Regions from separate parts of the Homo sapiens genome. Here regions 2, 3, 4 and 5 are each linked to region 1. Evidence: promoter capture Hi-C in 16 types of primary human blood cells and fetal thymus (Javierre and others, 2016). All regions are on one chromosome and are shown on one strand. Each heading gives the region's core, a stretch centred on a gene start or on the middle of the fragment in contact. The rest is flanking DNA. Distances are from core to core; before and after follow the strand shown.

The links. The method cuts DNA at HindIII sites, captures the fragments that hold promoters and counts their contacts. A CHiCAGO score of 5 or more calls a contact.
Region 2: a contact is called between a fragment that was not itself captured here and the fragment with the promoter of LRRC38 in region 1, in 4 of 17 cell types (total B cells, naive B cells, M2 macrophages and 1 more). The highest score is 7.6, in total B cells.
Region 3: a contact is called between a fragment that was not itself captured here and the fragment with the promoter of LRRC38 in region 1, in 3 of 17 cell types (naive B cells, M0 macrophages and M1 macrophages). The highest score is 6.1, in naive B cells.
Region 4: a fragment that was not itself captured here is called in contact with the fragment with the promoter of LRRC38 in region 1 in 1 of 17 cell types (naive B cells); the score reaches 5.2 in naive B cells.
Region 5: a contact is called between a fragment that was not itself captured here and the fragment with the promoter of LRRC38 in region 1, in 1 of 17 cell types (total B cells). The highest score is 5.2, in total B cells.

What each region holds. Positions count from the first base shown.
Region 1 is chr1:13,511,925-13,516,542 of GRCh38, reverse strand. LRRC38 (leucine rich repeat containing 38) reads left to right here and starts at 2,540. Exons shown (of 2, transcript NM_001010847.2): 1 at 2,540-3,580. The coding sequence starts at 2,950. It overlaps LOC107984918 (a long non-coding RNA gene), which reads right to left and starts at 3,323. Exons shown (of 3, transcript XR_001737896.2): 1 at 3,202-3,323; 2 at 1,999-2,252; 3 at 279-373. The HindIII fragment of the contact is 1,959 bases long and covers 1,389-3,347 here.
Region 2 is chr1:13,972,880-13,977,497 of GRCh38, reverse strand. It overlaps a transcript of KAZN not described here. Among named protein-coding and RNA genes, the nearest start is that of PRDM2, 280 kb to the right of the region's middle. The HindIII fragment of the contact is 2,302 bases long and covers 1,155-3,456 here.
Region 3 is chr1:13,948,565-13,953,182 of GRCh38, reverse strand. It overlaps a transcript of KAZN not described here. Among named protein-coding and RNA genes, the nearest start is that of PRDM2, 250 kb to the right of the region's middle. The HindIII fragment of the contact is 4,854 bases long and covers 1-4,409 here.
Region 4 is chr1:13,923,724-13,928,341 of GRCh38, reverse strand. It overlaps a transcript of KAZN not described here. Among named protein-coding and RNA genes, the nearest start is that of PRDM2, 230 kb to the right of the region's middle. The HindIII fragment of the contact is 437 bases long and covers 1,769-2,205 here.
Region 5 is chr1:13,904,613-13,909,230 of GRCh38, reverse strand. It overlaps a transcript of KAZN not described here. Among named protein-coding and RNA genes, the nearest start is that of PRDM2, 210 kb to the right of the region's middle. The HindIII fragment of the contact is 2,896 bases long and covers 832-3,727 here.

The sequences.
Region 1 (4,618 bases), core at 1,291-3,790:
ACTCAGAATGCCTGTGTTCTATTTCTAGCGCCTATCACTGACTCATATTGTGACCTTGCTGAGGTCATGGCTCTGTTTTATTTGTTGGGGGAAAAATTTAGAGGTGGCAAAGCTTGTATTTCCCCCAAGGGATGGGAGCTCTGGAATCTGAGATACCTCCCTGCTCCCTACAAAGCCCAACCATGTCTAGTTCTGCTGATATTAATGAAAAGAATGCTTACATTTGGATCCAAGGAACTTTGGGGGACACTCGAGGAAACAAATTGTTCCTGCCATCGCAAGATTTGTGGCCACTTTTATTGGCAATATTTCTCCAAAGACCTTTCAAATCATGTTCCCATACAAATACTTCCCCATGCGGCCCTCACGTTGTCTGTGGAAAGGAAGAAGAAAGGTATTTTTTCATTAGTTTCAGGATGAGGAAATCAAGGCTAGGAGTGGTATTTCTCAATAGGTTTGTTACCAAGAGCCCCTCTTAATATTTTAGTACCATGCATTCCCCTGTTTTGCAAGTCCTTGTCAACTAAATACTTGCATTTATTCAGTAGAAATTCATCTCTGTTTTTCTTAAAGTCACCTATGAATGCCGGTTCTGCACAAAAGGACTAGTGCTACCATTAAGTTCACTGGCAAGAATTGCAGTATTTAATCCGGGAGACCTCCTCAAAGATAAAGGCCTAATTTTCACCAGACTTTTTTAAATTTTGAAAAGACCTCCTCTTCATAGTATCTGGGGACCCAGGCTAAGAAGTCCCCAGAGAGATCAAGTGGCTTGTGAAAGATTCTGTGGCTAGTGGTGGGGCCAGGACCAGACCCAGGGTCTTGATTCATATAGGTCAGTGCTCCAGCCAACCAGACCACTTGGCAGGGAGGGCTTGTGTACACACCCAGACATACAGACACGCGGGCATGCACGTGCAAGATGGCAGCCCAACCAAATGCGGGTGTCATGAAACCATGATGCTAAGGGCTCAAACCAGTAATAGGTTCCCCTCAGTACAGGAGGGAGCAGGCAGAACCAAGCCTGAGATTGGCAGAGTGCAACAGTTCGGTTCAGGCTGCTTTTGCAGAGTTGCAAGGGTGGGAGATGTGTTTATTCTGCCACCTGCCTGCACTTTGTGTGACTCTTCAATAATTTATACATCATTTATGTAGGCAGAAGCATTTTCATCCACTCTGGGAGCATTCAGACCACTCCTCCCGACACCTGCCTCTTCAAGAGCATGAGACTGGGGTGGGGAAGCTGAGCCCTTGAAGTTGGGGATGGCAATGGCAAATTGGGCACCCTGGGAGAGTGGAGACAGAGACGGAGAACTGAGGGAGGTCTGGCTTAGTGGCCTGGAATGTAAGTAGGGGAAAAGCTGCAGGACTCCAGGTGCCTCAAAGCTTCCCCCTGGGTCTCCCCCGCCTCTTCCCCAGGGCTCCTGCAAATATGCTCATCTGTTGAGCCCTTGGCTCCATCCCAGGGGATCAGTTTTTTCATCCCATGGCTCAGAGGCATCAAGTCGGCCTGTACCTTTGGAAGAAGGCCGAGGGCTTAGCTTTATGGCTTCAGAATCCGAGGCTCCACCAATCCCCAGCATGGCCAGGGGCCAGGGAAGGGTCTCTGGGAGCCTGCTGCCCAACAGCTGTTCCCTGGGTTATTTTGGTCTAGTGGGAGTCTGTCAATTCTAGGGCATTTGGACCAAAATAGCCAACAGCGGGACAATCTCTTGGTAGCTCTGTGGGGACCCCTCCCCATATAGAAGTTTCTAGAATGAGGTGGGACAGAAAGAAAGGAGTTTGGCATCGGGGTGGTGAAGAGGGAATTTTCCTGCCAGTGTCAGAGGCTGACATCAGCATTTCCTCACTGTCCTTTCATCTCAGCCTTGGCACGTTCCTGACTGCCTCCCTAGGCTATCCAAGGTGGGGTTTTGAGGGGGAGAGAGGAAAAGATAATTTTTGAACTTTGTTCTTGACTTCTTGGTCCTCCCCCAAAGCTGATGAGATATATATTACCTTTTTCCATTTCACAAATGGAGCTACCAGGTCCACAGAGGCAGAGGTACTGGTCTGAGGCCACACAGCTTGGAAGCCAGGCCTGGTGACTCCAGGCCTCAGAGCCTCAGCAGCTGGACCTCTCAGACCAGCAGCTGATCCTTGCATGGATGCCAGTTCCATCCAGAAGTTCGGGGCCGGCATGGAAAGTGCTGACTGGCCCTGCAGGCCACAGCGGGGGCCCTGGCAGCCACTTGCCTCGCTCACCCTCCAGCCTAAGATGGTTCAAGTGCAGGTGGGGGAGGGAAGAGGGAAGACCAGTCACTCACTCTCTCCCCTTGGAACCCCGCCCAAATTCAGACCAGCAGACCCTGGCGCGGCACCCGAGAACCTGCAGGGATTGCCCCCGGAGCAGAGTCAGAGTGACCCAGGTCCCACTCCCTTTGGCGACATAGGGTGGCGTGCAGGGAGCGTGCTTTGGCACCAGGCGGGCGCGAGGGGGCAGGGCGCACGCCCGGGACACGCCTTAGGGAAACCGCTCCTGGGCTTGGTAGCTGAACTTAGACGTCGAGTGCAGCCCGCCCGGTGCGCGCGGCGTCTTACTGCCAGATCTCGGAAATCAGCTGCCAGGGTGGGGCCGCGTTTTGGCGACGGCCACTCGGCCACCCCTGCCGCTCCCGCCTCTCCCAAGAGATTTTTCTAGCGGGTTAATTTCCTGTCCGGGTAAACCCTTTGGTGAGTCCCTCGCCCCTCCCTCCCCGCCCCTCCCCTCTCCATCCCTGCTGTCCCGGCTCCCCAGTCCGTCCGCGCCGCGCTCCATCGCCCCCGCACGCCCGGGCGCACGCCCTCCCCGCCCGGGCCGCCCTCTGGCTCCCCGCGCCCGGCAGCCAGTGCCTCACCGCGCCGTCCCGCGCCAGGGCTCGCTCCGAGAGCCGCTTCCTTCTCGCCGCGGCCGGCGCGGGCCCCCCGGCCATGCGCCCCCGAGCCCCAGCCTGCGCCGCCGCGGCGCTCGGGCTCTGCAGCCTTCTGCTGCTGCTCGCGCCCGGGCACGCGTGCCCCGCGGGCTGCGCCTGCACCGACCCGCACACCGTGGACTGCCGCGACCGCGGGCTGCCCAGCGTGCCAGACCCTTTCCCCCTGGACGTGCGCAAGCTGCTGGTGGCCGGCAACCGCATCCAGCGGATCCCCGAGGACTTCTTCATCTTCTACGGCGACCTGGTCTACCTGGACTTCAGGAACAACTCGCTGCGCTCGCTGGAGGAGGGCACGTTCAGCGGCTCGGCCAAGCTCGTGTTCCTCGACCTCAGCTACAACAACTTGACCCAGCTGGGCGCCGGCGCCTTCCGCTCGGCCGGGAGGCTGGTGAAGCTTAGCCTGGCTAACAACAACCTGGTGGGCGTGCACGAGGACGCCTTCGAGACCCTGGAGTCGCTGCAGGTGCTGGAGCTCAACGACAACAACCTGCGCAGCCTCAGCGTGGCCGCCCTGGCCGCGCTGCCCGCGCTGCGCTCCCTGCGTCTGGACGGGAACCCCTGGCTGTGCGACTGTGACTTCGCCCACCTCTTCTCCTGGATCCAGGAGAACGCATCCAAACTGCCCAAAGGTGAGCCGAGCCGGCTAGGCTGGGGGAGGGAGGGAGGGGGGCAGGGAGAGGCCACCCCAGACCCCAGTCTGGGTGGGAGGAGCCGTGGGTTGAGTTTGGAAGAGGAGGCTTGGGGGATCCTGAACTTTTCCTGGGTCTCTGCTGGGGAAGTGGGTGGAGAGGGACGCATCTGGAATTCTTTGGAGTTTCTGAACCCTGAGGCTGTACTTCTTCCCCTGTTTCTCCAGTAACTCACTTTACCAAGTTAGGGACCTTCCCCTTCTCGGGATGCCCAGGATCATCTCCCTGGGCTTTGGGTCCTAGGACTGGCGGGTGTGGATTACTTATGCGTCCCTGGTAAGCGGAATGCAGCCTACTCTATGGGAAACGGCCGTATTCTCAGTACCGTGCACGGGGAGTCAGCCAGTTCCAAGGGCTCTCCAGCAGCTTCCCGAGCCTAACCTGGCCTCTCAGCTTCTCAGCTCCAGTTTGCTCTTCTGTCTAATATGGGTGAGGAAGATTTCTGATGTGGAATAATGGCAGCCCATTAAGAGCCAATGATGCAGTAATGATTTGTAGTTCTCTGTGGCTTTTCAGCCAGATGTGAAAAAGCTGAACCAAAATGTAGAGGGCTGGTGCCCCCTTTGCTTTCCTGGTGCACGCTTCCAATGGCGGCGTGGGCATAAAAACTCACTTGGCAGATGGGAACACCAGGGCGGAGGGAGTTAAGGGGCTCCATTAAGGCCCGCAGGAAGGGAGCACGGGTGGAGCTGAGAAGGAGGGGACCCCAGCATCCACAGGGATGAGCACCCAGAGTGAGGAGGCAGGTGGCAGGTGGGTGTCCTTCCCCCAAGTGGATTCCAGCCTCCCACTTGTGACCCTGTGAGCACCAGTGCCCGCAGTGACCTCTCAGAGCTGAACTCTGCCTCCTGCCTTGCTCCCAAGATTTCAGCAGAATTGGGACCACAGCTGCAAGGCGCACATCATCAAAGGTGACATACATGCAGATTTAGCTTCAGAATATTTTTTTTTCCATTTACGGAGAAATCAAGGATGCTG
Region 2 (4,618 bases), core at 1,056-3,555, 460 kb before region 1:
ACTCTTTGACATATCTTATCTGATTTTACAATTGATCTCAGACAGAAGGAAGGCTTAGTCTATCTAAGCTATTTCAGCAGAACCAGAAGTCCTACATTACTCCACTGAAAGCTCAAAACAATCCTATGCAATAAGTAAAATTATCCTCATTTTACATATGAGAAACTGAGTCATAGGGGATTTAAATTATGTCACAAGAAAAACCACTGAAGTCACAGAACTGAGTTTTATTTCAAGTTTCATGTTCTTTCCAATGTACCTGTGATACCTCACCAGTGGCATCAGACGGATAATATCTAGAACAAAAGAACTCAGTTGAAAAAACAAGAACAAAGAATGAATTCCCTGTAGACTAAGCTCTCTTCCTGCACAGGTAAGGATCTCTCTACCTCCTCTCTGATCCTCACCAACAATGGGGAACCAACCTGTATTCAACAGAGGGAAATTGCTGAATAATTCATAAGACAGGAGGGTTCCCAGCTCAACTCAACCTTGGATGAATTGTCTCTATGGCCCTACTAAGATGAAGAAAAATATTTCCTTGTGCAGTAAATGTGGTTCATGAAAAGGATTCATTAAGTAAGATGCTATTTAAACATATACATTTTTCTGACTAGCACTGCACTTTTTAGGGAAGGTGATGCTTAATAGAGGAGAGATGCTTTAATCTCTCCTTATACTAACTTTCTAAATTAAAAAAACACACAGTGCTGCCACTAGCATCTTAAGGAAGATAGGTGGATGCATCGATACACACTTCTTTTTAAGTGCCTGTTCTTAAAAAGACATCTGTTATTGACTGTAATAGCGTGAGTCATAACAAATGCATTTATATTCATGTAGATATAATCTGCACTTCCACAGGTGTTCCAGTGTAATGTACAATTGCCTAATGAACCTTTAAAATAAAATGCTGCCAATGAGAACTGAGTTTGCCTCTCCTATAAAGAAAATGAACTCCATCAGGCTGGCAAACAGGAACCTCAGCATCCTAGATATTTTTAATATGATGGCTTTCTTACTGCAATTTCTGCGGGGAATAATATATAGGGAAATAATGTTTCTCCTTTGTGATTACATTACCATATGGAGTAATTTTTCTTGACAAGGAGGTCATTTCATCTGATGAGTTCTTGAACAGTGAAATGGAAGCTTGGTTCTATGACAGCAAAGGACAGATTGACTTATTAAAACCGTTACATTACAGATTTTTATTAGTCGATTTCCCATTTGCTCTCTTTGAAAATCAAAAGCATGGATGCATTTGGAAAGTCCATCAGAAAATATTAAGAATAAAAATTAGACAGAATGGTCATTATTGTAAATGGAAAAATCATCTGAAAACTAAGGATTCTAGAGGCCAACTTTAAGAATTCTCACGAAGACATTATTTGGAGAGCAGAACAGATGGGGTATATTAATGGAAGAACCAGCCTCACAAGATAAACAGCCAAAGTTTTAGAAAAATCACCCAGGCATCTGAATTCAAGGCAGGGTGCAATGGACTGAACAAAATTAATTGTCCTAGACACCAAAAACACAGAGGAAAAGTGGCCTAAATCTAGGAGAGACTTCCAAAGCACTCTGAGAAATGTTGCTTTACTTTTTCATCAAAACACCTTTCAGAAGCTGGGTTTACTATGCGTGTACTCATATTTATTCCTTTTGATTCATTCATTCATTCATTCATTCAGCAAGCCTTGACTGACCCCATCAATGTGCCAGGACCACAAAAAACATCATGACGTGACTCGTGTTCCCGACTAGTTCATGATCTGGTAGGGGAGACAATTGAGTCAATACTATCTACCTGCCGGTGTGTTAAGTTTTGTTTAAGGAAATGTATGGCTCATTCATCCACTCATTTGATCAATATTTGATGAGTATCTATTCTGTTCTAAGTTTTTACTCAGCACTGGGGACTCAAGAGCATGTTTGGGTAGCTATAATTTAACAGACATATGATAAACAAATACATAGAGAAAGTCCAATTGTGTTTCAAGTTGCAAATTAGGCACATGCAGCTCTTTTCCGCTACACATGGTTCTAAGTGCAGAGGAAAGAGTCGAGCCTCTGAAGCATCACCTCTCAGCCCACTGATATCTGAAGCTCCTTTCTCACTCAAAGATACTCTTAGAATAAAGAGACCTTTTTTATATGCTTGGTATGGGCTGTGATGAAGTAACCAAGTGTTCTGAACAGTGGCCTTGAAGTGCCTCACAATCAAAGGCCTCCCCAGGCCCCACTCCTGCCTTCTGAGTAATGACAGAAAGTGCCAAATTCGATCCAAATACATGTGGAGGCAGGGGTGGGCAGCTGACTCAGCCACCACCCTGACACACTCTATGATCTGTCTTCCTACTGTAGGCTCTCAACGTAAAATCTCTAAGAGCAGAGTCCCCATCTGTTCTTATCACTCTACACCCAAAATCCAGCACAGTGCCTAGAACATGGAAAGTGATCAATAAATACATGTTAAATGAACAACTAGAAAACAACATAATTAGGATAAGAAAAGTGCTATAAAAATAAATAGATCATCTGATAGCAAATTACACTGTAGGGAAAGGGCGGATATAAAAAAGAGTTAACAAAGCAGTCTTGAAGGTCTGTGTGAGACCTCCAGGGTATCTAAGGTTTACAAGGTTGGCCCTTGGCTGGTGTAGTGGTTTTCTGGGGCTGCCATTACAAACTGCCACAAAATAGGTGGCTTAAAATAACAGAAATTGACTCCCACACCGTTCTGGAGGCTGGAAATCCCAAATCCAGCAGGACCTTGCTTCCTTTGCTTCCTCAGGGAGCTCTAGGGGAGAAACTGTCCCTTGCCTCTTTCAGCTTTTGGCAACCCCAGGCATTCCTTGACTTGTGGCAGCAGCATTCCCATCTCAGCCTCCATGGTCACATTGTCTTCTCCTCTTCTGTCTGCCAAATTGTTCCTTATAAGGGATACTTGTCTCTTATGAGGACACTTGTCACTGGATTTAGGTCCCACCCAGATAATCCAGGATGATGTCTTCATCCCAAGATCCTTAATTAATTACATCTGCAAAGACCCTTGTCCAAATAAGGCCACATTCACAGCTTCTGAGAATTCGATGTGGGCAGATCTTTAAAGGCACCATTTTTCAACTCACTACAGCTGGTATCTGCCAACTTACATCTTAAACAGTTCCCTACACTGATATAAACTTTCCCTAAATGATAAGAGTGGCCCATTATGCCTAGATTGTTTGTACAATGTGGTTTATTCTAGGCAGCTGCTTGTTCTTCTGGGTCTGGAGTTTTGGTACATGCTAGGCAGAGAAGATCTACATAACCAGCCCCCATTAAAAACACTGGCAGTGAATCTCTTACAAATTCCTGGTTTGATAACATTTCACACACATTGTCACAATCCAGTGTTGGAGGATTGACACACATCCCATGTGACTCCCCTGAGCGAAGCTCCTGGAAGCTTGTGCCTGGTTTCCACCAGACTTTGCCCCATGCATCTCTTTCTTTGGCTGATTTTGCCTTGGATCATCCTAGTCCTAGCTGTGAGTATGACGATATGCATAGTCTTAGGAATCCTCCTGGTGAACCAACAGACCTGTGGGTGGTCGTGGGGACACCCGATGCAGGGGTCTACTTAATGAGGCACAAGGGAAGTCTTCTCAGAGAGATGGTATTTGAGCTGAGACCCAGGATGGAGATCACACAGCCCATTTGTGATAGGGCTGGTGTTAAAGCTCAGTTTCCTCATCTGTAAAATGGGGATGTTAACAAAGTCTCAGCAGAAGATGCACGACACTGTCAAACTGGGTTATTGGAGGAAAATGCATAAAGGGATTAGGCACGAAGGTGTGGTCAGGATTTAAGAAAACCAACATAGGATGATGCAGTACCCTTGGGCTACAAACACTGGAAAGCTGGTAACACCGTAGGCCTGAAAGGCAAGTTGAGGGAGTTGTTACCTGAATCCAGAGAAGGCATTTGTATGAAGGGGACTGCCTGATCAGAGCCAGAGATCATGGCAACCTGGTGAGAAGCAAGCCAGGTAAATACGTGTTCTGACCTCACTCTCTTCTGATCCTCTACTCTTCTGCCAGTGGTTTCCACTGGTTAAGCCCAACTAGACACCTGAAAGTAAGGAAGACAGCTAATGAGGTCCACAGGGGTCAGCCTCCTAGGGAATAAAGCAGGGTGGAGAAGGGCAGACAGTGGATCTAGAGGGGAAAGGGGGAAATACCCAGCACAGTGGTGGTGATAGCCTCTACCTCCATGAGGTTGTTATGAAGTTTACATGAGATGATACATGTCAAGGGAGAACTTAGTACATCGTCTGGAATAATGTGAATGCCAGATCACTGTTTTATAGATGTTGATAATAAAGATGAAGAGGAAGAAGATGAAGGGGAGGAGGAAAAGGATGAAGAGAAGAATAAGGAGAAGGAAGACAAGGAGGAAAAGGTGGAGGGAAAATGAGAAAAAGAAAGAAGCCCCTTGAGAGCAAGAATATTTTTATTGTACCTAAAACAATTCCTGGCATGTGATAGACAATAAATATGTTAAATCATTGCATTATATAAGGGTCCTTATATCCAGATTCTAAACCTTGACTCAACACAGGGATTTGGTC
Region 3 (4,618 bases), core at 733-3,232, 440 kb before region 1:
GAGGAGAGATAAGATAGTGCCTGGAAGAACTGCGGAAGCTCTGATCCTCCCAGGCCAATTGTCTATTGAATTCGGGGGCCGTTCTGTAGTTCCCACCACAGCCTGTTCTGTTGCTTCTACTTGAATACCTCTAACCACAGGTTTCTCAATACTCCAGGGCAGCCCATTCTGTTGATCATCAGGCAGCTTTGGCTGTTCGAATATCTTTTATGATGAGCTAAAAATGTATCTCCCTATATCTTAGGAAATAAAGAATCATATAACTAGGAGGAAAATCATAGAGAACTCTGGTTCAGTTTCCTCATTTTAAAGGCGACTAAGTGGAGATCCAGAGAGGGATAGGGACATCCCAAGGTCACACAGCACAATTGTGGTCCAGCTGATACTACTGGTATTTGAGCTCCGGCTGGCCAGTGGCCTTGCAACATGAGGAGCTTTCCTGGTGATCTGGCCAGGGGGACCTTTCAATGTCATGCGTCTGTGTGCACACAGGTTGACTTTATAAGGTGTTCTGAAAGCGATCGGGGGTTTATAACAGTTCCCAGAAGACCCTGCCCCAGCTTGCTGCTGTTTGTTCTCTCTCCTCTTTAAAAGGAACCAGCACAGGGCCCAAGAAGTAACCACAACTCCTCCCTGAGTCAATAAAGCCAAAATTCACCTCCATGTAAGGGGTGAGAGGAGAGATAAGATAGTGCCTAGAAGAATTGCGAAGCTCTGAGCCTCCCAGGCCAATTGTCCAGCCCTGTGCTGGCCATTCTGTTTCATCCTATCATCCCAAATCAATCCAAAAGAGCAGATATTGATATTATTATTATTATTATTATTATTATTATTATTATTATTATTATCTCCATTTTATACCTAAGACTCCAAGCAGTGAAGTGGCTTGTCCAAATATTCAGCATGACATGACAACATCCTACAGTGTGTAAGACCACATGAGTCATCTCCAAACCAGAACCCTTTTGAGAGTAATTCAATTTAGAAGACAAAAAGGCAGCCCAGTAAATAATATTAATAACAAATAAAGTAGAAGCTCTAGGGAGTCCTGAAACCCCTTTTCCTGCTCAAATAAGAAGCTGCTAAAAGAAAGGAGATTATGCAACAAATAGTCCTCAAACAATCAACAGCTCCCATAGGCCTGCAGGGATCTGGGTTAAGACACCACCCTTTCTTTACTGCAAACAGGCCTGACCTGGTTCAAGATTTCCCTGGGAAACTGTTACTAAAACTACCCAACTGATAATAAATAGCACAGCTAGGGCAGGCCAGATAACCACCAAGGCAACAGCACTGTGGGTCATACCTTGGCATCATGTGTCTTAAGGCACTTTTACTTGAGAGATTTTTATAAAAGCAGAAAGTGGGTGGTAAGGGGGTGGGAATCCATCTATGTCTGTATGGCTTGCCTGGACTTAGAGAAACACAAAGAGCATGATCATCATGGACAGCAACCCTGTGCTGGCCATTCTGTTTCATCCTATCATCCCAAATCAACCCAGAAGAGCAGATATTATTATTATTATTATTATTATTATTATTATTATTATTATTATTATCTCCATTTTAGAGCTAAGATTCTAAGCAGTGAAGTGGCTTGTCCAAATATTCAGCAAGACATAACAACACCCTACAGTGTGTAAGACCACGTGAGTCATCTCCAAACCAGAACCCTTTTGAGAATAAAGGGGACATTAGTAATAATTCTTCTGGGATGACAGGCATACTTTGGGGCCATCCTGAGCTCACCAGGAAGTGTGGTCCCCGAACCATGAGCCAGGCATGGGTCTAAGTGCTTTGCGTGGACTAGCTCATCTTATCCTCATCTACCCTTATCCCCATTTCACAGATGGGAAAGTCAAGCCACACAGCTGTGAAGTGGTAGATCCAGATCCAGGATTTGAACTTGGATAGGCTAACTCCAGGTCCCATGTCCCTTACCACACTATGCCTTGCTGCCTCTCCGGGAGCCAGGATGTTCACTCAAACATGCTGACCCCCAACACTGTGCACTGGGCACACCCACAGTGTCTCCTCTCTAAAGTCTTTGCTCAAAGAATCTCTACCTGACAATGCAATGGTATCGCCTGCAAATTCCAAATCCTTAATACAGGGCTGGGTATTAGCCAAAGAAAAAAGGCTGAAAGGAAGAGGAATCCCATGGACTCCAGGCAGGGTCATTTCCCAACAAGACCAGAAACATCCCGTTCTATCTTCTCCTTTGACAGTTTCCCGAGAACTGCAACACTATCACATCTTTTGGGAAGGCGATTCCTTCCTTTGTATACCTATTTAACACACAGTACTGGATAGACGACCTTGCCCCTGAAACGCCCCAAGAGGCAGCCAGTGGGAACTGCATCCTTGAACCCCCTTGACCTCTAGCTGCCCTGTGGGCTCAGTCAATGGGAGGCACATAGAGAAGTCAAAGAATGAGTGGCTGATGAGGTTGGGGTATTCGTTCCTCTGCTCTCTCCAGGCCGCAGCTCCTTCTAGGCAGCCCTTCCCTCTCCTGGTCTGCTCAGGCCTGAGGGTTATAATAACTCCTGCAGTCCGACGCTGCCTTTGTAAGCTGTATCTTTACTAAAAATCCCAATTTGAACACATCAACTACTACCTGCCAGATGCTGTTTCCTGATAGTCTAGTAAGGAAGCCCACAAGCAAGTAGATAACTCAGACAACTCATTCAAAAAATATTTTGAACATGAACTATTTGCCAGGCAGTACACTGAACGCTGGGGATATACAATAAGGAGAAACAGACACAGTCCTTGTCCTCATGGAGCTGACAGTCTGATAGGAGAGACCATCAAATCCCAGAAATGGGTACAAAAGGACAGCTGGAAGTGCTCTGTGGGGGCAATGTGGGATGCCAGAAGAGGTGACCTGGAAGGGCACTGGCCTGGCCAGGGAGGTCTGGAAGGCATAAGGGACACCAAGGAAGCATTGTGCAGGACCATCGGAGGAGGCGGGGACAGAGAAAAACCTGGGCACCCAATGACAAAGGCCAAGAGGGAGGAAGTGCAGCCCAAACAAAGCAGCAGGTGCATGAAGCAAAGGAAGAGGCCTGGGAGGGAGCAAGGCTCAGGGAGCAGGCTCAGCCCTGGGGTGTGGGGATGTGTTGGAAGAGGGGGCTGCAGAGCAAGGCAGGGGCGGGATCTGGAAGGCCCCTACCCACCATTCCAAGGCCTTTCAATCTTACTCGGACCCAGTGTCTCCAAATCTTAGCCATGAAGTTCCTCCTCACATCAAACTCAGTCTTATAGTCAACAGTTGCAGTGGGAATCCTCCCAGGTCCAAACTGGATGGTGTCTCGGCTGTGTTTTGAGCAGCAGCTTCCCCGTTACCTTTGACCTTAGAGGATGGATGTTGAGAATGGGGCTTTGGGGTCTGCCTGTCTGGGTTTAGATTCTGTCACACATTTGCCAGCTGGCTCAGCCTTGGGAAAGACAACTTCTAGCTGACCCAGATTACTTCTCCATCATAAGGTATATTCATATGGATAATAGGAGACCTTTTTGAATGTGATGAAGTTCAAGGAGTGCTAAGGACGCTGCTTGGCACAGAAAAAGGGCTCAGTAAAGTGTGAGCTGTTATGATCGCCATTATGGAACCCCATAGACATGGAAAAAAATCTCACCCTAAAAACACCTCGTCACACAGAGATGCTCACGGAAAGTCATGCAGAGGTTATTAAATATCTGATAAGGACCGCTGTCTGATATTGAGAAGCCTTATCATTTTTTAAGCCCTGAACAATCTAATTAGTGGTTGCTTTCAAAGCCAGTCAACCCTAAGTCTCCCCTGCTGCCTCTTAAACAGGAGGTATTTCTGCTGGCCCAGGCCCCTGCAGAAATTGTCTCCAAGTACAAGAGCTCATGGGATGTTCTTGGGAATGATTCAGTAACAAAACGCCACTTTGTGCCAGCAGATGTTTTGCAATAATTAAGTGTGGTCCCTGAACATAAAAATCAGAGCTGCTGAAAATAAAAATCTTGAGAGTAACTGCAATTTCTGGGACAGCTGCTCCCTCTGGGTACAGAGGAGAGGGGAAATGATGTTCTTACCAGAATGCTGGCTGGAAAGAATAATAGATTAGATCCAGAAAACCTGGGTTTGAGTTCTGTTTTACTCAGCATTTATCAGCGTATTTATTGAACACAGAGTACATGCTGGATGCTGGGTACGTCAGAGAGGCGATGCTGGGACATCTGAGTCATGCATCTTGAGTCCAGTCACGATTTTGCCTCTTGCTACCCGAGTGACCTTAGCCAAGTTACTTAGCTCTCTAAGCCTCCATTTTCATGTCTGTAACATGGGAAGGGGCCTAGGGCAGAACCTTGAGCCATATTTTCATTCCTGAAAATAACAGCAAAACAGGAGCCAGCAATACTTCTGAGGAGAAGCTTCCAGAGATACAGAATGAAAACCAGGAGATGGTGGACTGAGCATCATTGCAACAGGAAAAAGATTGTTTGCAGAAAAAAAAGAACGGTTCATGGCCACAAAGAGGTCTTGGGGGTAAGGCTCAAGAAGCCAACACTGGATCTCAAAACAGGAAGGTTCCATCCTGCAGAAGCCTCTCCACTGCCCCCTTTCCCCACACCAGATGTGTAT
Region 4 (4,618 bases), core at 738-3,237, 410 kb before region 1:
GTTACAGTTGTCATCATCAATGTCACCACTGTCATCATCATCATCATACATGATCCAGAAGGACCCAGCAAAAGGAAGTAACACAACGGGATCTCCACCCAAGTTTCTTAACTATATGAGAAAGCACTTTCAGGAGAACCCCAGGTATGGCACATTTTTAAAGTCACAGGCTATTAGTTTACAGGAACCTGATCTTCTCCGCAAAACCTGAGCAATGAAATTTCTGACCACTGCATACAAACACACCCTCTGCTTCCTCCAGTATGTGTAGCTTAGCTCTGTGGTTAACAGTTTCAGCTCTGAAATTGGATGGAGCCAAGCTGGAATTTCACCTCTGCCATTGACTCGGCTCTCTTTTCTGTTCCTTGAACCCACTGCCAGGCTTGTTCCCACCATAGAATCTTTGCAGGGGCCCTGCCCCTGCCTGGGATGCCCTCCTCCTTGATGTTCATGTGACCATATCTTTTCCATCACTCAGGTCTCAGCCCAAATGTGGCCCCTTGCAGGGCAGCCTCTGAGCACCCTGTACTTGTGTCTCTTCCGCTCCACACATCCAGTTTCCTCTCTGTTTCAGTTGCTATGCGACCTTCTAAATATCAGAATATGGATCTAGCTTTTGGATTCCCACTAAGATGCAAGCTTCTTGGGGCAGGAAACTTCTCCATCCTGCATCCACTGTATTTTCCATGCCTAAAAACATGCCTGGCTCAAAAGAGATCCTCCACCAAGAGCCACTGAATCAAAGAATGCAACAGTACCATTGGGATTTGAACATAGGTCCAAAGTGGATAAAAGTGAAGTTGGGATTTGGACATAGGTCTGCCTGGGACACAGACCAAACTCCTAACCCACCTCTGATGGTTCTTTGCCCAGCTATTCCTAACCTTGTCTTCTGATGTGATGAGCAGAAAAAAATACTTCCTCCTGCTCAAACCCTTTTAGGTGTCTGTAAACAGCTCCCAGGCCCCATTTTAAGCCCTCTCTGTAATGCCCCACTGTGCTCAGCTCTGTTTTATACAGAAAGTCTTCCAAACCTGCTTCAGGGTCCCTGTGTGACCTTCTAGTTCCTCAGTGTCTTTCTTCTCCAACTGCACTAGGACCAGGTTCATTCCAGGGAAGACACAGGCACCTTGATATTGTACTTCTATTAACAAAACCCAGGACTGCATTATTATGATCTTAAAAGATTTCTGAAAGGGCTTTATAGAACACGGAAATTGGGTCACACACAAAAACAAGAATCCTGCTTGATGAAACTGAAAATGTGACATCTCTTTTTTAGCATAGCTGCCACGCTACAATGACAGAATCTTGCATGAGGGTTTTCATGGAAAACAAAGGGCCGAGTGACATGGGATTTTAGGCACTTTACGACAAATGCATATTTAAAACACATATTTTTGCAGGTTTTTTTCTTTGAGCACCATAGCAAGGTTAACCTTTGAAAGGGAGCAAAAATCATAGATGATAAATGTTTCTTGTCTCCCTAGCTATTCCCTTTGAAGCCCTAACTTGGAAAAATAGCAAATATGGAGGATGCTATTTTAACTGTCACCCCAGTATCAAATATGATATGTCACTCCAGCCAGCATTTTGTCACCTTAAGATACTGATTTGTGCTTGGGAAAATTTACAGCCATTTATGGCTGTCATGCACTGAAGTTCCCAGGAGATTTTTTTTTTTTTTTTAACTCTTAAAGATAAATCTTCCTTTCTTATTTTCATTGCCTGGTTATTTTTACTCATTAATAACAAGGACCTGTAAGCTTCACTGTAATCAGGACCCAATGTCACTGGCTACACGTGTACATGCCTTTGTGCAAAGGGGACTTGAAAATAGGGAAAAGGCAGGGGAAATGTGGGAGGAAGCCATCGGGTGACTCAGAAACACAAGTGGAGACTGTTCATTGCTTCATTCTTGTCCTAAACATGGAATTCGAAAATTTCAGGGTAAGAAAAGAAAGCACCTCCAGCTCACATAGGCAGAGTTGCCACCACACTAAGAGTGAGCCCCTATTCTCCCAGCAGGGAGGTGCAGTGTTCACTGGTGGTCTCAGCCAGCCAGGGCAGACAGCCAGCCTGGTGTGTCCTAGTCCTGCCCACTCTGGGTAGTAACAGCACGGTGAGCCAGGGCATAGGGAAGCATGAAGTGCTGTCGGAGTCAGCAAGACCCCAACTCAGTTTGGGAGAGAATTGGTGAAAGCTTCCTAGGAGAAGTGACTCATTAGTGAAGACTCAAATGAGAACTAGATCCTTTGAAATGAAAAAAAACAAAGGGAGAGAGAAACCATTATCAAAACCAAATCACGCTCTGTCCCCCAACCACCCCATATGTGCCCCTCCCAAGTCTCTACCATCTCAGTCAATGGCCACTCCATCCTATGGGCCACCCAGGGGAGACCCTCATGGTCATTCACTCTTCTGCCCTCACTCCCCAACTTCAATCATCAGCAAATCCTCCAAGAACTATTTTTGAAATGGATCCCAACTCTATTTGCAACTCCCAGTGCTTGAGTCCAATTCATGGTCACACCCACTCTTCCCAACCTGGACTCTCTGCCTCTGTCCTCTAGTGCTTATGGTCCATTTTCAACCGCTGGCCAGAGAGCTCCTTGAACTTGTATGTCAGTCAAGGTACTTCTGCATTCCCAGCTTCCCCTTTCACCCATAACAAAATCTAAATTCCCTTCAACAGTCTACAAGGTCCCAAGTGATCTCCATAGCCTACCCCAGCTCAGTGCCTCTCGGGCCTCACTTCCTGCTATTTTCTCCTCATTCATTGCCTACCGGGACATTCCTTAATCTATCGCAGGGTCTTTAGACCTCCCATCCCATCTGCCTGGAGCACCATCTCCCAGGTACTCACATCTCTTTCAGATCTTTGCCCAAAAGTCACTGCCACATTGAGGCCTTTTCCAACCACCCATACTCCCATCCCCCTTTGACACTTTATTTAGCTCTCACAGATAAGAACATCCTTTCAACATAACCACATTAGATTATCCTGCCAAGTGGTGACTCTTTCAAAACTATGGCAAAGTATAAAGAACTATACCAGCCATAAAAAGGAATAAAGCACTGATACATGCAGGAACACGGATTGTATCTGAAATTACTCGAAAACATTAAGCAAAGTGCAAGACGCCAGTCACAAAAAGACCACGTAATCTATGATCCCATCGCTGTGAAATGTCCAGAATAGATAAATACATAGAAACAGAAAGCAGATGAGTGGTCGCCCGGGGTGGAAGGAATCTGGGGATATGGAGTGGGTGAGACCTAAAGTGTATGGGGTTCTATGTGAGCTGATAAAAATGCTCTAAATTTGACTTTGTTGATGGTGGCATACACCTGTGAATATACTAAAAATCACTGAATTGTACACGTCAAATGGGTGAATTGTATGATATTGTGAACGCTGAGTATCTGAGACAGGTCTTAGTTAATTTAGAAAGTTTATGTTGCCAAGGTTGAGGACCCGCATCCATGACACAGCCTCAGGGGATCCTGACGACATGTGCCCAAGGTGGTCAGACACAGCTTCGTTTTATACATTTTGGGGAAAAATAAGACATCAATCAACGTATGGAAGAGGAACACTGGTTCAGTCTGGAAAGGCGAGACAACTCGAAGCAATTGCTGGATGACTCAAAGTGGGGTAGGGGGCTTCCAGGTCATAGGTAGATAAGACACAAATGGTTGTATTCTTTTGAGTTTCTGATGAGCCTCTCCAAAGGAGGCAATCAGATATGCATTTATCTCAGTGAGCACAGGGATGACTGAATAGAATCAGAGGCAGGTTTGCCCTAAGCGGTTCCCAGCTTGACTTTTCCCTTTAGATTAGTGATATTGGGGCCCCAAGATTTATTTTCCTTTCACAATATATAAATTAAATCTCAATAAAGCTGTTTTTTAAAAAGAACTATACCGCCTAGAATTAAAACATGATCACTTTATTTGCTTCAGTGTATTTTAATAAAAGAAAATATTACTGAAGTTGAAGTCCCCTTCATACCCACATAAATTTTGCTACATCAAAAAATTATTTAAAATTTTTTAATTACAGTTTTACTGCTAAGTCTTCTATCTTTTAAGCCATACCTTTGAGTTTTTAGCCTTCATTTACATGGATTTACCTTGAGGGGCCTTTTCCAGTTCTAGCTATCTTTGGATGATAAAAATCTCAAAGAATAACTGAGCCAGTGCTTGCAGATTGAGTTTATGGCACTGGGAAGCAGTGAGCCATGAAAAAAACAAAAGTACAGAGAGAACATTATCAAAACCAAATCACTGCTCTTCCCCACCACCCCATATTTGGCCCTCCCATCCATTCTCTATTCTCTCAGCCAAAGGCCACTCTGCCCGACGGGCCATCCAGGGGAGACCCGCATGGTCAGCATCCACTCTTCTCTTGCCCTCACTCCCCAGCATTCAATCCATCAGCAAATCCTAGGATTTAACTATACATCAACTGGACATTTCCTAGGATTTAACTATAGTGGACCCTCAAACAACACAGCTTTGAACTGCATGGGTCCACTTACATAGCATATATTTCAATAAAAGTGACATCAAGTGTGCCTGCCTTTCCTCCCCTTCCACCTCCACCACTTCTTCT
Region 5 (4,618 bases), core at 1,030-3,529, 390 kb before region 1:
TGCTATTGTTGGTACTTAAGAACCAGTGAAATTAACTGGTGTGTCCACCAATCCCATAATTCAAGGCTGGACACTAAGATTATCAATAACCTTGTACTTCCATAAGAAATGTTTATACCTAAATGCCCCCTGCCAATGCCCATCTTCTCCTCTTGTAGGGATAAGAAAGCACCTACCGACTTTCCCTGACTTGGTGGACTTCACCCACCTGCGTGTACCAAGAAGCGAGGAGAAGAGGCAAACCTGCGAGCTCTGCTGCTTTGCGAAAACAAAAGGCAGCCCAAGGAGTAGCCTCGTACTTACTCTCTTTGGTCTCATAAAACATGTGTTTATTTTATGTTCTCCAGCTCACGAAAGTCCTTAACAGCTCTGCCATGATGCTACTTGGGGTGAACACAGGTCTTGTCACCGTGGATTTCTGCACACACAACAATTTTTGCAGCTCAGCATCCTAGCTCGGGCCTGTTCCACCACTTGAGAAGTTTATGACCCTTGAAAGGGAAGTACAGGCCCCACCATGCTTTAGTTTACCAAGGGACAAGATAATGGCAAAGGGTTCTTCTGCAATGCCCAGTTCGTTTATCAGTGATCAATGCCTTCCCAAGAAAAGCTATAAAGTCTCTGCTGGCTGCCATCTGGCTTCGACACGGCTCCAAGTTTCCGTTTCCAACTGCCAGTGTCCACAAAGGAACTTTTGTTTAAACTGGGGACAACCAGGGTGGTACCACCTGACAAACTGGATTTTTAATGAACACTTAGGACCCAGGGGAATTAGCTATTTAGGCTGGAGCTTTCTTGACCAAAGAGCCGTCAAGGCCAAAGAGCCAAGCTTCAGCCTATAGCAATAGCTTTGTGCAAGAAGGCGTGGACTGCTTTGAAACCCCCTAGCTTTCTCATGACCTCTCTCATTACCCTCAAAGGCAAGTGGCTGGTCCTTCATGCTAGAGCAGGCAAGAGAGTCTTTCTAAACCACAAGACAATGTGTTGATGCTGCCTGTTTCTCATGGGCAGTCCAGCTTTCTGAATAACCCCAGCTACAGGCTTTCTGATGTAACTAAAAATAAACCACGTCTTCAGTATGAAACAAAGTCCAGGAATTCTGTTTCAAGTAGAAAAATGGACTGCCACAATGTGGCTGGCACTTTCTTTAAATTATTAAGTTCCTGCAGGCCAGCTGACAGCAAATGTTCTCTTTGCCTTGTCATCTATTCCATCTCCTGCTACCACTGCTAATCATATTATAAATTTGTGCACCAGTATTGCTGTCTTCAGACCCCAATAATTCTCAGAGAATCAGCTCTTGTTTAGGACAAGCACATTCTCTTTTTCTCTACGAACTACACAGTCTTATAACCTCACCCAACAGGGGCACAAGAAGTATCATCCAAGCCAAAAAAAATGTTGCGGTGGGAGAAGTTACTCCCAAACCCATCCAAAAATGTCTCATGGGGAGACTGAGCTTTCATGAGAAGCCAGTCTGAAGGTTGCCAGACTAATTCAGCCTTATGTTTCCCAGAAAATATTTTGAAACTGGGTACACATAGCATACATTTGGGTTGTTTGTGGAAGGGCTATTGGACCAGGAGATAACATCAGTGGCTCCAGGGACTGGGTTACCTTTAGAATTTCCTCCTGGATAAGAGAGCTTGGACCTGAGAGTAACAGAGACCAGATAATGCCAGCCTAGTTCATTCCAAGACCCCCCATTCCCACCCACCCAACACACACACACACAGCCTCATACACACCCCTCAAAGGCCTTGCCTTAAATCCTGTCACTCATTCTGCCAGGCCTGGGCCCATACCCCGGGGCTGGGGTCTTCTCTACCACTTCCTGCTATTAAACTGAATTTAGGTCCTAGCTCCCACCCTGCCAAGCATCCTGGCACAGTCCCCAGGGGCCACTCCACCTCACTATAGGGAGACATTCGCCAACTGATCCCTAATACTGGCTTGAGAGGCACAAAATGTGTTTCCAGCCTTCAGTGGGACTCTAGTCCTGGAGGGGGTGCCCTGTGGTGCTGGAAGATTCTATTGCATGGTGGAGATACCTTCTCAGGGGAAATCCAGCTGCAAAAACACTTTTCATCAAGGTTTTAGCCATTCACATTAACTGAAGACAGAGACACCACATCAAAAGAGGCAGGAACAAAAATCACCCACATAGATATTTCTTTTCTCTGAGCTAATAGAACAAGAAGCCCACCATAACCACTCCACGCATTACCTGGAGACACTGGGTATTTCACTTTGCAATGGCCTTTGCACAGGCGGGAAGCCTTACTTCCCGAAGAATCCCAACAAGCATGACACAGTCTCTTGGTCTGTTTGCCTGACTGTCGCTAGGAATGAAGATGTGCCCCAGAATGGAATTTTCAGGAATGCATTCGTCTCTCTCCCATGGTGGCATCTGCAGCATAGCATGCTGTGTAATAATGGTCATTTCTGGTCCTGGCCCTGCTCTGGTTTTGGCCACACCCAGTTGGCACAGAGTGAGTCCCTGAGACAGTCCCAGGTGAATGTCTTGTCCAGTGTCTGAGGCAAAGGGGATAATAAGAAACAGACTTAAGGTCAGTTCTGGCTGTCAGAATGGAAGACATTAAAGGTCAAAGGAGAGCAGTAAACCAAGGTCGATCACACATATATGGAAGCCAAGAGACAAAGTTAGGCCAGAAGAACGGGAAGAGGCAGACTGGAAACCTGGGCCGGTCCAGCCCAGGCAGCAGCATCTTCTCAGCAGTAGTACAGCCTTTCTGCCCCACAGGGTTTTAGAAGCATCATTTCCTCACACCTATAAGCACCTACGCCTCAACATCTCCAACTCCTGCCTCTCCGAAAACGAAGCCCGCCCCCAGGAGGCTCTGTATTTCTCTCTCCAGCCTGGAGGTTGTTTGCTCTATTTCTTTTTCAGGGAGTTAGTATGGTAGACTCAGGGGAAAGTCTATAAAACATTTGAAAATACAATAGGCATCCTTAGAAATACAAAACTGAACTCTTAAAGTAACAGAAATGTACTGTAGTGGGCTGAAAATGCCCCCTGCAAAAGACATTTACATCCTAATCCCTGGAACTTGTAAATGTTATGTTATTTGGGACAAGGGTCTCTTTTTTCAAATGATGTGATTGAAGCTAAGAATCTAGTAATGGGGAGATTATCCTGGATTATCCGAGTGGGCTCTAATTGCCATCACAAGCGTCCTTAGAAGAGAGAGTCAGAGGGAGATCACATACACAGATGAGAAGGAGGAGCTGGGTAACCATGGAGAGAGATTGGCGCTCCCAGAAGGAACTCAGGTCTTTTGAGACCTTGATTTCAGTCCAGAGATACTGATTTTGGATTTCTGGCCTGCGGAACAATGAGATAATATGTTTCTGTCGTTTTAAGTCACCGAGGTTGTGGTAATTTGTTATAATGGCTATAGGAAATTAATACATCCACAAAACAAACTAACAAAAAAAAATTACAAAACTGAAAACCAGAGTGATAGCACACACTAAGATTTTGGCTGTTCGGAGGCAATTGCTTATCTTGTAAAATGAATGCTAGAGTTTTATTAGCCACATGGGATAGATGGCAAGGTTTTAGGTTATGCTGGGATAGAGGAATTAGAACTACAATACTTTCCACACACATATTCACACACCAGCTATCTTAGAGGGCTCGACATCAGGGAAGATGAGACTTGGATGTGGGTCCTGAACACAGGCACGGGGAGGTAAGAAAGCTTGTCTGCCTCAGTCTGAGTCCTGGATTGAGAGGGGTTGAGAGTGATCTCCCTTAATACCTCATTACTTCAAGCTTACCCTCATATGAGTTGGGGTTCAAATTTATACTACCAGGGAATGTATGGAAATATCCAGCCTGGAAATTAACATTACCTACGGTAATAACATCTCACAGATAAAATTCCTAGAATAAGCTCAAAATCCAATCTTGCAAAGTGCATGAGGTAATAAGCTATCTTAGACATGAGTCAACAGAAAAGCAGAAGAAATGTACTCAGGAGTGCCAGAATTGGATTATAAAATTCCTTTATCAGATAAGTATTAATTTTAAATGATTAAATAAATAAAACATATGATCAAGAGCAAGAGAGACAAAGATTATCTTAAAAAATAATACCTGGGAGATTTGAAAACTATTCAATGAGAACTTCTAGAGGTTAAAAAAAGACATTCAATGAAAAATGAATTGCCTGAGTTCAGCTGAAGATTAGACACAGCTAGAAAGAAAATTAATGAACCAGAAGATAGTTTTTAAAGTCATTATCCAGAATGCAACAGAGAGACAAAGATGGAAAATATGAAAAAGAGTTCAAATTGAGAAGTCTAACACAAGTCACAAAGGAATTTCTAAAGGAGGGATAGAAAGAATGGGAATCAGTGTTCAAAGAAATAAGTAACTGAACATGAGTTACATGATTTGCATCTGAGATGCAAATCCTCAGATCTGAGAAGCACAAACCCCAGATAGGATAAATAAAATTAGACCTACCCCTAGCTACACTGTAGTGAAACTACAGAGCTTCCAGGACAAAGACTTTCAAAGCAAATCCATAGAAAAGAGAGATCACCTACAGAGAAATGACCCCAAAATCAAAGACCAACAGCAACAGCA